Linked DNA regions of Homo sapiens: all the other regions are linked to region 2. Evidence: promoter capture Hi-C in human tissues and cell types (Jung and others, 2019). All regions are on one chromosome and are shown on one strand. The core of a region is centred on a gene start or on the middle of the fragment in contact, and the rest is flanking DNA. Distances in the headings are between cores, read along the strand shown.

Region 1 (2,776 bases), core at 227-2,726, 62 kb after region 2:
GGCACTGCCCTTAAATCCTCTGTGCTCCACCTGTTTATCCCTTCCTATCCCCAGACGCTGGCAACCACTGATATTTTTACTGTTTCCATAGTTTTGCTTTTTCCTAAGTGTCACATACTTCAAATTATACAATAGTCAACCTTGTAGGATGGCTTTTTTTCCTTCGTTTTAAAAAGTACTGATACCAATTCATCTGAGGAAATCTAAGACTTGTAGCGAGCCACTGTAATGTGACTATAGCGTGACCATGTGTTACCAGAAATTGATGGGATGGCTCTGTGGATTGTGGGACAGGTCCAACATCACCAAATTATACTATATGATAGATCACCTACACATTTAAAACTGAAAAGATGACATGCAGCCAGAGAAATCATAAAGAACACATGAGGCCTCTCAACCCTATCTCTGCTCCATTCCACTTGTGGCTGAAGCTTTAAGAAGTGAAGTCAGGATACCAAGTCCTGATTAGGGCCTGTGGAAGGTAAATTCCATTTGGTCATTACTGGAGGATGATCTATTGCTTTGTGGAACTCTTTTGGAGTCATCTAAGCTCAGGAAAGTTTAAAATAAGTGACAGCTGAAGCACCGTGGTGCTCCTGACCTTGTTTGGTTTTTCTTTGCATTTCTCCTGCGTAAAGTTCATAGCAGTTTTTGCATCTGTAGTTCGATAACTTTCAGCAGTGTTTGAAAAAGAGTGGCCATTATTTCTTAAATATTGTTTTGGCACCGTTCTAGGACTCTGCTCATGTGAAGGTTACATGCTTCTCCCAGGTCCCACTTGCTTTTATGCTTGTGCTGTTTTTTATTTCTTCCTTTGCACTCCATCTTTTGGCATATGAAGTCACTCTTCATCTCTGTTCTGTGATGTTTTAAAGCTGTCTATTGAGTTCTTGATTTCAGTTATTATGTTTTCAGTTCGAAAATTTTAATTTGATTCTTTCTAACGTATGTTAGTTCTCTGGTGCGATTCTCCATCTTGCAATCTGTTTTCTGGAACACATTAACCATGAAGTCCCTTCTGCCATCTCTGGTTCCATTTCTAATGTCTGTTTTCTTGCTTCTTTCTATTACTTGGTATGCCTGATGTATTAGTCTGTTTGTATTGCTGTAAAGGAATATCTGAGACTGGGTAATTTATAAAGAAAAGAGGTTTATTTGGTTCACAGTTCTGCTGGCTGTACAAGCGTGGCACCAGCATCTGCTTCTGATGAGAGCCTCAGGAAGCTTCCAATCATGGCAGAGGTGAAGGGGGAGCCAGCTTGTCAATGGTGAGAGGGAGCAAGAGAGAGAGGGAGGAGGTGCCAGCCTCTTTTAAACAACCAGATCTCTTGTGAACTAACAGTGAGAACTCACTCATTACCATGAGCACAGCACTAAGCCATTCATGAGGGATCCATGTCTATGATGCAAACACCTCCCACCAAACCCCACATCCAACAAGGGAATCACATTTTAACATGAGATTTGGAGGGGATGAAACATCTAAACCATATCACCTGGCAATTTTCATTGTGTACAAAGATTTGTAGAGGCATTGAGTGGTTTTTCCCTTGCCTCTCTGTAGGTCTGAGCTGGCATGGGGCTGACCTGCAGTCTTGCAGAGGCTCCACTGGACTCTGGTTCCCCTGCCTTTCTGCATCGTTCCCCAGAGGTCCCAACTGAGGGCCTGGAATGTGTCAACACCAAAAAATGGCTGAAAATACAGCCCTTCTTTTTAAGCCATTTTTACAATTGTTTTTTAACCTCTTATGTTGTACAACTTAGTCAGTAAATGTGTCGAGGAGATAACCAGTATTGGTTGGCTTTCTTCTCTGACATTCATATTCCCTGAAATTGTGGCCCCTCCTTTTTTGACTTCTTGGCCAGTTTTTCCCTCAAGCTCTCCCGGGTTCTTTATTCTCTCTGTCCAGGTTTTCACATTACGTGCCCTGTCAGCAGAAGACAAGTTCTCGGGGGAAGTGGCGTGCAGGAAATGTTTACCATGGTGAGCCTGCTGCCTCTGTTTTGGCTTCTTCAGATGGATTTTTGCTTAGCTTTCTCGCTTGCTCTTAGTGAGGGTGCCAGTCTACTGCAAGGTATCCCATCCTAGCCATGCATCCTTGATTTGGAAATTTAAGTTTAGGTGTAATAAGGATTGATTCTGGATAGCTAGCAAGGAAGTAAGTTGGAGCAGAGTCAAAGCAGATACAATCTGACTGGGAGATTTTTGTTGTTGCTTTGGTAACCTCCTGAACTGCCTTCAGGTTAGCGAATAAGAGGATTTTCTAGGGTCCATTGTTTTCAGGTTTTTTCTATAAAATAATGATGCTTTGAACGACACTAAAGGATACGAATTATGTATTTCTTTTAGCAATATTAGCTTTAGATGAAAAAAAGCATGTGGCCCTTTTCAGTTGTTTAAGAGGATGATGGTCTTATATGTGGTTTTAATATTATTTTATAAAATGAACAATATTTCATTTTCCACTTGAAAAATGAAAAAATTTTATTGCTGTCGTAGATTTTTTTGTGGTTTTATGCATTAATATAGTATATAGTAAATGTTCAAAAGGATTGTTTGTTGCTATTCTTGCTATTGTATTACAACCTGTAAATTTTGTGACACTTTCAGTTTTATGTCATCCGTGAATTCTCCCCTCAGTGTTCATGGCCTTTGGACCTGAGGAATTGGCATTACTGGCAAGCTTCTTAGAAATGCAGAGAATCATGCCAAACCCCAGATCTCCTTGAATCAGAATCTGCATTTTAACAGGATCTCCAGATCATTGTCATC
Region 2 (2,748 bases), core at 153-2,652:
TCTAACTGATTTTTAAAGTGCTCAGATTTTGGTACAGAAAATTAGAGATTAGGGCAGAGTATGATAAAGGCTCATATTCCCCTGAAGCCTAAAGGAGTGGTACAGGTGTTGGAAGTGGAAGAATGCAGGAGCGTCAGAGTCTTCATCAAAGAGGGGACCTTATAGGGCATGTGCACCTAAGTAGGAGGGATGTGCTGGGCAGAGGAGGATGAGAATGCCAGAAAGAGTCCTGGAAAGGCGGGGAGCTGGGTGAGTTCAGCACCTCACAGAGACAGAAAGGTGATGCCAGGGAGATGACAGCTCCATTGTTGAAAAACAATATTGTCATTAACAACTGCACTCCCCTCCACTTCATGCCTATCCAGAAACAAGGGGGAACACACCAGAGGAATACAGGCCCATGCCACCATGCCCAGCTAATTCTTTACTATTTTTTGTAGAGACAGGGTTTTTGCACATTGCCTAGGCTGGTCTCGAACTCCTGGGGTCAAGTGATCCGCCTGCCTCGGACTCCCAAAGTGCCGGGGTTACCGGCTTGGGCCACTGTGCCTGGCCGAACAAAGCTATTTGACAATATTAAAGAAACAGTTATCACACCCTTACATAATTCTATGAATAGCAGTTATAAAACATTTTCTAAGAACTTTTTGGGGGTGATAGAAATGTAAAATTCCTAGTGGATTTACTACACTGTTGCGATTGCAATACTTACATGGTGCAAGACTAACTTTCTGAATGATTATGACAAATGAAAGCGTAAATGCCATTTTCGGTTTTTGGAATATGAAAATACATGGAATGAGGCGCACCTCATGCTTCCACCAAACGGAACGTCTTTGGCTTCTTGCCTTAGGATCTTTCTAGCTCCTACCTTTAACATGCCTTTCCACCTCTACTGTTTATTGCTATGTGTTAGTCTCTCTTTTCTGTAAGAAAGGCATAAATCTGGGGTGCTTTTTTCCCAAATATTCCCGCAGAAAGCCACCTTTCCAAGCACAGAATCTTATCAGTGCCTAGGAGTTCAGCCGACTTAGCACGAAGAGTGCGATGGAAGGGCTGCTTTTGGCAAACCGTCTCAACCCCGGGCGACGGCGGGCACGGGAGGTCAGGGAGCGCTGGAGGAAACCTGCACTGGGGTAGAAATGGCTGGAGGAAGGCGGACCGCGGGCTCGCTCTCATGGTGCCAACCCCGGGGACCTTTCTTCAGGCTCCCTGCGGGATCCCCAGCCTCCCCTCCCCCTCGGAGCTCCGCCCCCTTCCTGGCCTCAAACTCCGAGTCCATTCAAACCTCGCCTTCCTCGCCCTGCGCGTTGTCAGGCGTGTAATTGGGGAAACTCCTCCCCGCCGGGACCGCCTCGGAGGCGCTGCCAGGGGACAGCCGCCCAGCTGCCCCCACCTCCCAGCACAGCGCACACAGCCCCGGCCTGGGCACCCGCGCCCGCTCGCGGCTCCAGGCGGGGTGGGCGGCGCCGCGCCAGGGGGTCCCCGGCGCCCATTGCTCCCGCCGCCCGGTTGCGCGGACCGGCGCTAGTGCGCGGGTGGGGGCGGCGCGCCGCGGTGGCCCGGCGTCCCGTGTGCGTCCAGTGTGCGCCCCGCGGGGGCGCGGCCAGCGCCAGAGTAGATACCTGTCCCGCCCGCCGCGGCCAGCAGCCTCGGAGGAAGCCAGGGCAAAGAGGGCCGGCGGAGACCAGGTCCGCGCCGGAGGAAGCCGCGCCCGGCCGAGGCCCCGGACCCTGCGCCCCGAGCTCCACGGCACCATGGCCCCGAAGCTGCTGCTCCTCCTCTGCCTGTTCTCGGGCTTGCACGCGCGGTAAGTGGCGCGGGGGCCGCATCCCCGGAGGCCCCGAGCTGGGCGACAGGGCGGCGGGGGGCGCTGTCTGCTGGAGTCCCTGGCGCGCCAGCCGTCGGCTGGGCTGCGGCACGGCGGGCCGGGAGGGGACTGGGAAGTCGGTCTGCACCTCACCTGTCCCAGCTCCCTTGGACACGGTCATCTGCTTTTTCCTCTGCAGCCGGGAGTGTGGGGACTCAGATTAATGGGCTCGTCTCCTGACGCTTTTAGGATCTGGTGGTTTTAAGGGGTTTTGAGAACCAGGTTCAGGGGGCAGGGGCCATTTCTGGCTCCTTACCGACCCCTAATTCCCACCTCAGCTGTTTCAGGGGCTCACACACACACACACTTTGGCTGACATTCTCTGTCATTTCCATCACTCTGAAATTTCCAAGAACCCGGGAACCGTGGTTCTAACTGCCTAGTTTAGACCGGGCTGGAAAGAGCTAATGCATTGGAGGCAGGCGCGGGGGGATTGGAACCAGGTGGGCAGAAGAAAGCCCTGCTTGTCTGGGAGGACTCCCCTCCCAGGTCCTGCAAACACACACACACACCTTCCACATCAGCCACTTTCACACAGAGGAACACACGCACTCCCACCCCCATAAAGCACGCATGTCGAAATGGATAATAAGGCTTCTGCCTGGTAATGTAAGAAATCATCTCACCATAAATTCCGCAACCTTCCTCCCAGTACACCAACCGGCTAATGGGAGCTTAGAATCACTCTAGAAGAGATGAAGAGGGCGCATGAGGATACAAGGACAGTGGGACCCAAAGGGTTAAATCCTGTTGCTGTAAACACAACTGGAGATTCTGGGTTTAGTTTCTTTAATTCTGTCTCTCTGGCTGGATTTCTGGCTAGAGCTTGCAGACTGTCCTGTTATTTGAAAATTGGAGCAGTGTCTGGCCTTTACCTC
Region 3 (2,700 bases), core at 73-2,572, 42 kb before region 2:
TTAAAAATAATGGCATGGTGTCCATTCGGAAGCAAATACTTAAACACAACAAGACTATTTAGGAAAAAAATATATTTAGATTATGTCATTCATTTTATTTGTGGAGTGATTCATTAAATATTAAGCCATGAGATGACATCTGGATTCACGAAAATATGTACTAAATTAGAACTGGAAGCTTCTTTGGTAGTCATCCAGTAGAGAGAATTTCAGGAAATGAGGGGTGAATTTCACCGGAGTGAGCTACTATTCCATTCAGACACATGAATTATGCCTGCTGTTGCATTCATCATCCCCAGCTTCTAGTGACTCAGGATGAGCGTGGATGATCTAGAACACAGGTTTCTGAGTGCCTCGTGTGAACATGTTACAGTCTCGACAGTTGTAGAAACATACTGAAGTTTTAACTGTGCGGTGTCTGAATTTAGATTGTTTCAACAATCACGTTGATGCGTTAGTTACCCTTGGTTGTCACTGGAATCTGAATGTTTGTTTCCTCCCCAAATCATGTGTTGAAACCCAATCCCCAGTGTATTAAGAAGTGGGGCCCTTACGAGGTGATTAGGACGTGAGGGTGGGGGGTCCTCCTGCGTGGGATTAGTGCTCCTATAAAAGAGGTCCCAGAGAGCTCTCCCGTCCCTTCTGCCATGTGAGGACAATGAGAAGGCACCCAAGCAGACTAAAACAATTACCATCTAAGAGATACTCTGAGTGTTGCTTTAGTCTGGTTTGGCTGTTATAACAGAATACCACAAACTGAGGGACTTAAAAACACCAGAAACTTATTTCTCACAGTTCTGGAGGCTGGAAAGTTTTGGATCAAGTTACCAACAGTTTCAGTGTCTGGTGAGGGCCTGCTTTCTGGTTAAGACAGCATCATCTCACTGTGCCCTCACACGATGGAAGGGGTGAGTGAATTCCCAGGGGCACCTTTTATAAGGGCATTAATCCCATTCATGAGGGCTCCATCCTCATAACATAATCACCTCCCAACGCCCCACCTGCTAATGCCATCATCTTGGGGCTGAGGATTTCAACATATGAATTTTGGGGGGGACACAGTTATTTAGTCTATCACATTCTTCCCCTGGACACCCAGCATTCATGCTCTTCTCACATGGTTTCAGTCCAAAAGTCTAAAGCCCAAAGTCTTAGCTGAATATCCTCTAAATCAGATATGGGTGAGACCCAAGGTATGATTTATCTTTGGGCAGAATTCTTTTCAAGCTGTGAAACTGTGACCAGACAAGTTGTGTGCTTCCAAAATACAATGGGGGCAGGCACAGGATAGACATTCCCATTCCAAAAGGAAGAAGTGAGAAGGAAGAAGGGAGTGAGAGGTGCAGAGAAAGTCCAGAACCGAGCGGGGCAAGTTCCATCAGACCTTAAAGCTTCAGATTAGCCCTCCTTGGCCCACGCTTTGCCCTGCAGACCCATGGGGAAAGAGTTCCATATCTTCCAGTCACACTGGGGCAGCAGCTGTGTCCCAGCAGTTTTGCCAGGCAGGGATTGGGCCGCATGACTTTGGGGATCCCCTGCCCCTGTAGCAGCTTATGCCTGTGCCCCACAGCTCTCTGGGACTGGGGTCCTAATGGCTGTGCTTGGAAGCCCAGTGCTTTGAAATCTAGGTGGAGGCCATTGTGCCCCCTCTGCTCTGTTGAGCGCAGCCCTCACCACACCAGGGCCCCCCAGAACCCCTGCTGGGGTGGCTGAGGAGTGTGGTGCTGGAGAGCAGGGAGCAGAGCCCAAGAGGTAAGGCAGTGCACATCAGGGCAGGGCAGGGCGCCTCTCCGTCCTGCAGGTACCAGCATCCCTCCTTTGCATTCTCCCATTGTCTTGCACAGCAGCTCTTGGCTTCTGTTGGGGTGGCTGACTAATGAATGTCTTTCTTAAATGGTCCTTTGGCCACACCCATCCCGGTATTCTCTCCCAAACAGGCTTTCTCATTCCTTTCAAAATAGATAGGTTGAACATTTCCCAAATCTTTAAATTCTGCTTCTTTCTTCTTCTTCTTCTTCTTCTTCTTTTTTTTTTTTTTTTGTTTTTTGTTTTTTGAGATGGAGTTTCACTCTTGTCACTCAGGATGGAGTGCAATGGCACGATCACTGCAACCTCCACCTCCCGGGTTCAAGCGATTCTCCTGCTTCAGCCTCCCGAGTAGCTGGGATTACAGGTGCCCGCCACTACGCCTGGCTAATTTTTGTATTTTTAGTAAAGACGGGGTTTCACCATATTGGCCAGGCTGGTCACAAACTCCTCAGGTGACCTGCCTGCCTCAGCCTCCCAAAGTGCTGGGATTACAGGTGTGAGCCACCATGCCCAGCCTGCTCCCTTCTTAACTAACAATTCCATCTTTAAGTCATTTCCCTCTCCTCCCATTTTACAATAAGCTATTAGAGAAACAGGTCACTTCAACACTTTGTTTAGCATATTTCCTTAGCCGATATTCAACTCCATTACTCCTAGTTCCACCTTCCACGAAAACTATGACTATAACACGAACATGGTTCAGTCAAGCTCCTTGCCACTTGGTAACAAGGATCACCTGTCTTCCAGTTTCCAATAACATGTTCCTCATTTTTTGTCTGAGACCTCATTGGAATGACCTTTACTGTCCATATTCCAACCAACATTCTGCTCTGGATTGCTTATATATTCTCTAAGAAAATGGAGACTTTCTCTACAACTCTCCTCTTTTCT
Region 4 (2,955 bases), core at 381-2,880, 42 kb after region 2:
ATAGCTTACTTTTTCTGCTGCTCTTTGTTCCTTCTTGTAGATCCAAGCTTCCATATGCTATAATTTATTAATAGTGTAAAGAATATTTTAAAATATTTTGAATACTGCAGATCAGATGGAGATGAATTCTCTATTATTTTTCTGTGTGAAGATGTTTATTTCATCTTGATTTTTGAAGGTCTTTTTTGGGGGTACAGAATTATAGGCTAATATGTTTTTCTTTCAGTACTTGAAAAAATCTCACACAATTGTTTTTTGATTTCTGTTGTTTCTTATAAGGTGTCAGCCATGATCTTAACTATTTTTGTTATTTATGCAATGTACCTTTTGTTGGGCTCATCTTAAGAATTGTTTCTTTATTAACTTTTCAGCAATTTGATAATGATGTGCCCAGGTATGGTTTTCATAATGTTCATCATTCTTGGAGTTTGATGAAGTGCTCAGATCTGTGATTTGATGTCTTTCATCACTTTTGGGAAATTCTTGACTATAATCTTTACAGATATATTTTAAAATCTCAATATCTTTTTGTGGGATGCATTATATATGTATTCTCTTTGTAATACATTAGATGTTACTGGGTTGTGTGCTTTTTCAAGGCTGTATTAACTCTATAGGAAGGAATGGATATGGGGAGTGAATCACCATATCCAAGGTAGACTCTTCTTTCCCACACCATAGTCAATCTTTATCTCAGTACCTGGTTTTATTCCTTTCATAGTACTCATAACTATAAAAAACAGCTGGTTTATTGATTAGTTTACTTGTTTAATCTCCGTTTCACGCACTGTGATTTAAATGCTAAGAAAGTGGAGACTTTGTGTCTTGATTATGCTCTGTCCTCAGACATTAGAACTCTGTCTAGCTCACCAGTCATCCACTAATTATTTGTAGAATGAATAGTGGTAAGCAGAAAGGCAAAAACAAGATTTACTTACCACTTACACTAGAAGGGAGGCTGTTAAAAGGTACGTATTAATAAAACCCTTCAAACAGTTTATAATACTGGAAATGTTTGAACTGTAAGAATAGATTGGAAGGTGAAAGAAATTTGAAATAATTCAGTGAAAAATAAAATATTTTGTAGTAGTTAGGCTTATCAGCTGTAATGGAATCATAGGACTTCACATCTGGATTTCTAACTACTTTAAGATACTTCATATGAGTGGAATCTTAACATATTCGTCCTTTTATACTTGGCTTATTTCACTTAACATGATGTCCTCAAAGTTCATCCACCTAGTAGAACATGACAGGATTTCTTTGTTTTTCAAGGCTGAACAATATTGTATGTATATGCCACATATTCTTTTTTCATTCACCTGTTGATTGACATTTCTGTTCCTTCTACGTCTTGGCTATTGTGATGTGCAGGAGTTTTTAAGTTTAATGTAGTCCATTTGTCTATTTTTGCTTCTGTTTCCTGAGCTTTTACTGTCATATCCAAGAAATTATTACCAAATTCAATATAATGATCTTTTCCAATGTTTTCTCATAGACATTTTATAGTTTTTGGTCTCATATTTAGGCTTTTGATCCATTTTGAGTTGAATTTTTTATATGATATATAGTAAGAGTGCTAACCTCATTCTTTTGCATATGGAGATACAATTGTCCCTGCATCATTTATAGAGACTGTCCTTTTCTCATTTTGTAGTCTTGGCATCATTGTTGAAATTCATTTGGCTACTTTATGCAAGGATTTAACTATGGGCTCTCTATTCTGTTCCATTGGTCTCTATATCTGTCTTTATACCAGTATCATGCTGTTTGATTTTGTAGTAAGTTTTTGAAATAGGAAGTTTCAGACCTCCAACTTTCTTTTTTTTCCCCCAGGATTGTTTTGGCTATTTGGGGTCCCTTGAGACTCCATATAATTTTGGAATTGGCTTTTCTATTTCTGCCAAAAATGCAGTTGGCGTTTATATTGGAATTATATAGAATCTGTAGATTGCTTTGAATAGGACTGACATCTTAACAATATTAGGCCTTCCAATCTGTGAAAGCAAGATGTCTTTTTACTTACTGGTGTTTTCCTTAATTTCTACAAACAATGTTTTGTAGTTTTTGGTGTATAAGTCCTTTGCCTCTTTAGTACAATTGGCGTACAATTATTCATAATAGTCTCACAATTTTTCTTATTTTTGTGACATCAGTTGTAACATTCTTTCATTTTTAAGTATCGTTATTTGAGTCTTCTCTCATTTTTTTCTTAGTCTAGCTAAGGGTTTATACATTTCATTGATCTTTTCGAAGAATCAGCTCTTGGTTTTGTTGATTTTGTTTCTATTTTCTATTTCCTATTTCATTTATCTCTGTACAATTTGTATTATTTGCTTTCTTCAGCTACATTTCTTTATTTTTTTTTTTTTAGTTTTTTGAGGGTGTAAACTTAGATTGTTGATTTGAGGGTTTTCCTCCTTTTTTAATGTAAGTCTTTACTGCTATAAATTTCTTCCTTTGTACTGCTTTTGTTGTAGCCCATAAGTTTTGATATGTTGTGTTTTCTTTATTTGTCTCCATATATTTTCTAAGTTCCCTTGTGATTTCTCCTTCGACCCTTTGGTTGTTTAAGAGTAAATTATTCAATTTCCATATATTTGTGAATTTTCCTGTTTTGCTTTCCTGTTGATTTGTTTCATTCTATTGTACTTTGAGTGATTTAAATCTTAAATGTGGTAAAACTTGTTTTGTGGACTAACATGTCTTCTATCTTTGAGAATGTCTAGTTGCACTTGAGGAGAAGGTGTATTTTGCTGTTGTTGGGTGGAGTGTTCTGAATATGTCTGTTAGGTCCAGTTGGTTTGTAGTGTTGTTCAAGTCCTCTGTTTCTTTGCTTATCTTCTGTCTGGTTCTTTATATAACTGAAAGTGAGATATTGAAGTCTCCTACTATTATCGTGTTGCTGTCTAGTTGTCTCTTCAGCTCTGCCAATGTTTACCTTATAAAATTGGG

What was found. The method cuts DNA at HindIII sites, captures the fragments that hold promoters and counts their contacts. A contact is called where the count stands out against the background at its distance.
Region 1: a contact is called between a fragment that was not itself captured here and the fragment with the promoter of GABRG3 in region 2, in 3 of the 25 tissues and cell types used here (dorsolateral prefrontal cortex, liver and spleen).
Region 3: a contact is called between a fragment that was not itself captured here and the fragment with the promoter of GABRG3 in region 2, in 3 of the 25 tissues and cell types used here (dorsolateral prefrontal cortex, spleen and stomach).
Region 4: a contact is called between a fragment that was not itself captured here and the fragment with the promoter of GABRG3 in region 2, in 1 of the 25 tissues and cell types used here (dorsolateral prefrontal cortex).

What each region holds. Positions count from the first base shown.
Region 1 is chr15:27,031,287-27,034,062 of GRCh38, forward strand. The region is part of intron 3 of GABRG3 (gamma-aminobutyric acid type A receptor subunit gamma3); the gene reads left to right. Among named protein-coding and RNA genes, the nearest start is that of GABRG3, 61 kb to the left of the region's middle. The HindIII fragment of the contact is 3,014 bases long and covers 1-2,776 here.
Region 2 is chr15:26,969,779-26,972,526 of GRCh38, forward strand. It overlaps GABRG3 (gamma-aminobutyric acid type A receptor subunit gamma3), which reads left to right and starts at 1,403. Exons shown (of 10, transcript NM_033223.5): 1 at 1,403-1,810. The coding sequence starts at 1,758. The HindIII fragment of the contact is 15,270 bases long and covers 1-2,748 here.
Region 3 is chr15:26,927,983-26,930,682 of GRCh38, forward strand. All of the region lies in intron 7 of GABRA5 (gamma-aminobutyric acid type A receptor subunit alpha5), which reads left to right. Among named protein-coding and RNA genes, the nearest start is that of GABRG3, 42 kb to the right of the region's middle. RefSeq lists an enhancer at 1,109-1,657. The HindIII fragment of the contact is 7,071 bases long and covers 1-2,700 here.
Region 4 is chr15:27,011,987-27,014,941 of GRCh38, forward strand. All of the region lies in intron 2 of GABRG3 (gamma-aminobutyric acid type A receptor subunit gamma3), which reads left to right. Among named protein-coding and RNA genes, the nearest start is that of GABRG3, 42 kb to the left of the region's middle. The HindIII fragment of the contact is 9,195 bases long and covers 1-2,955 here.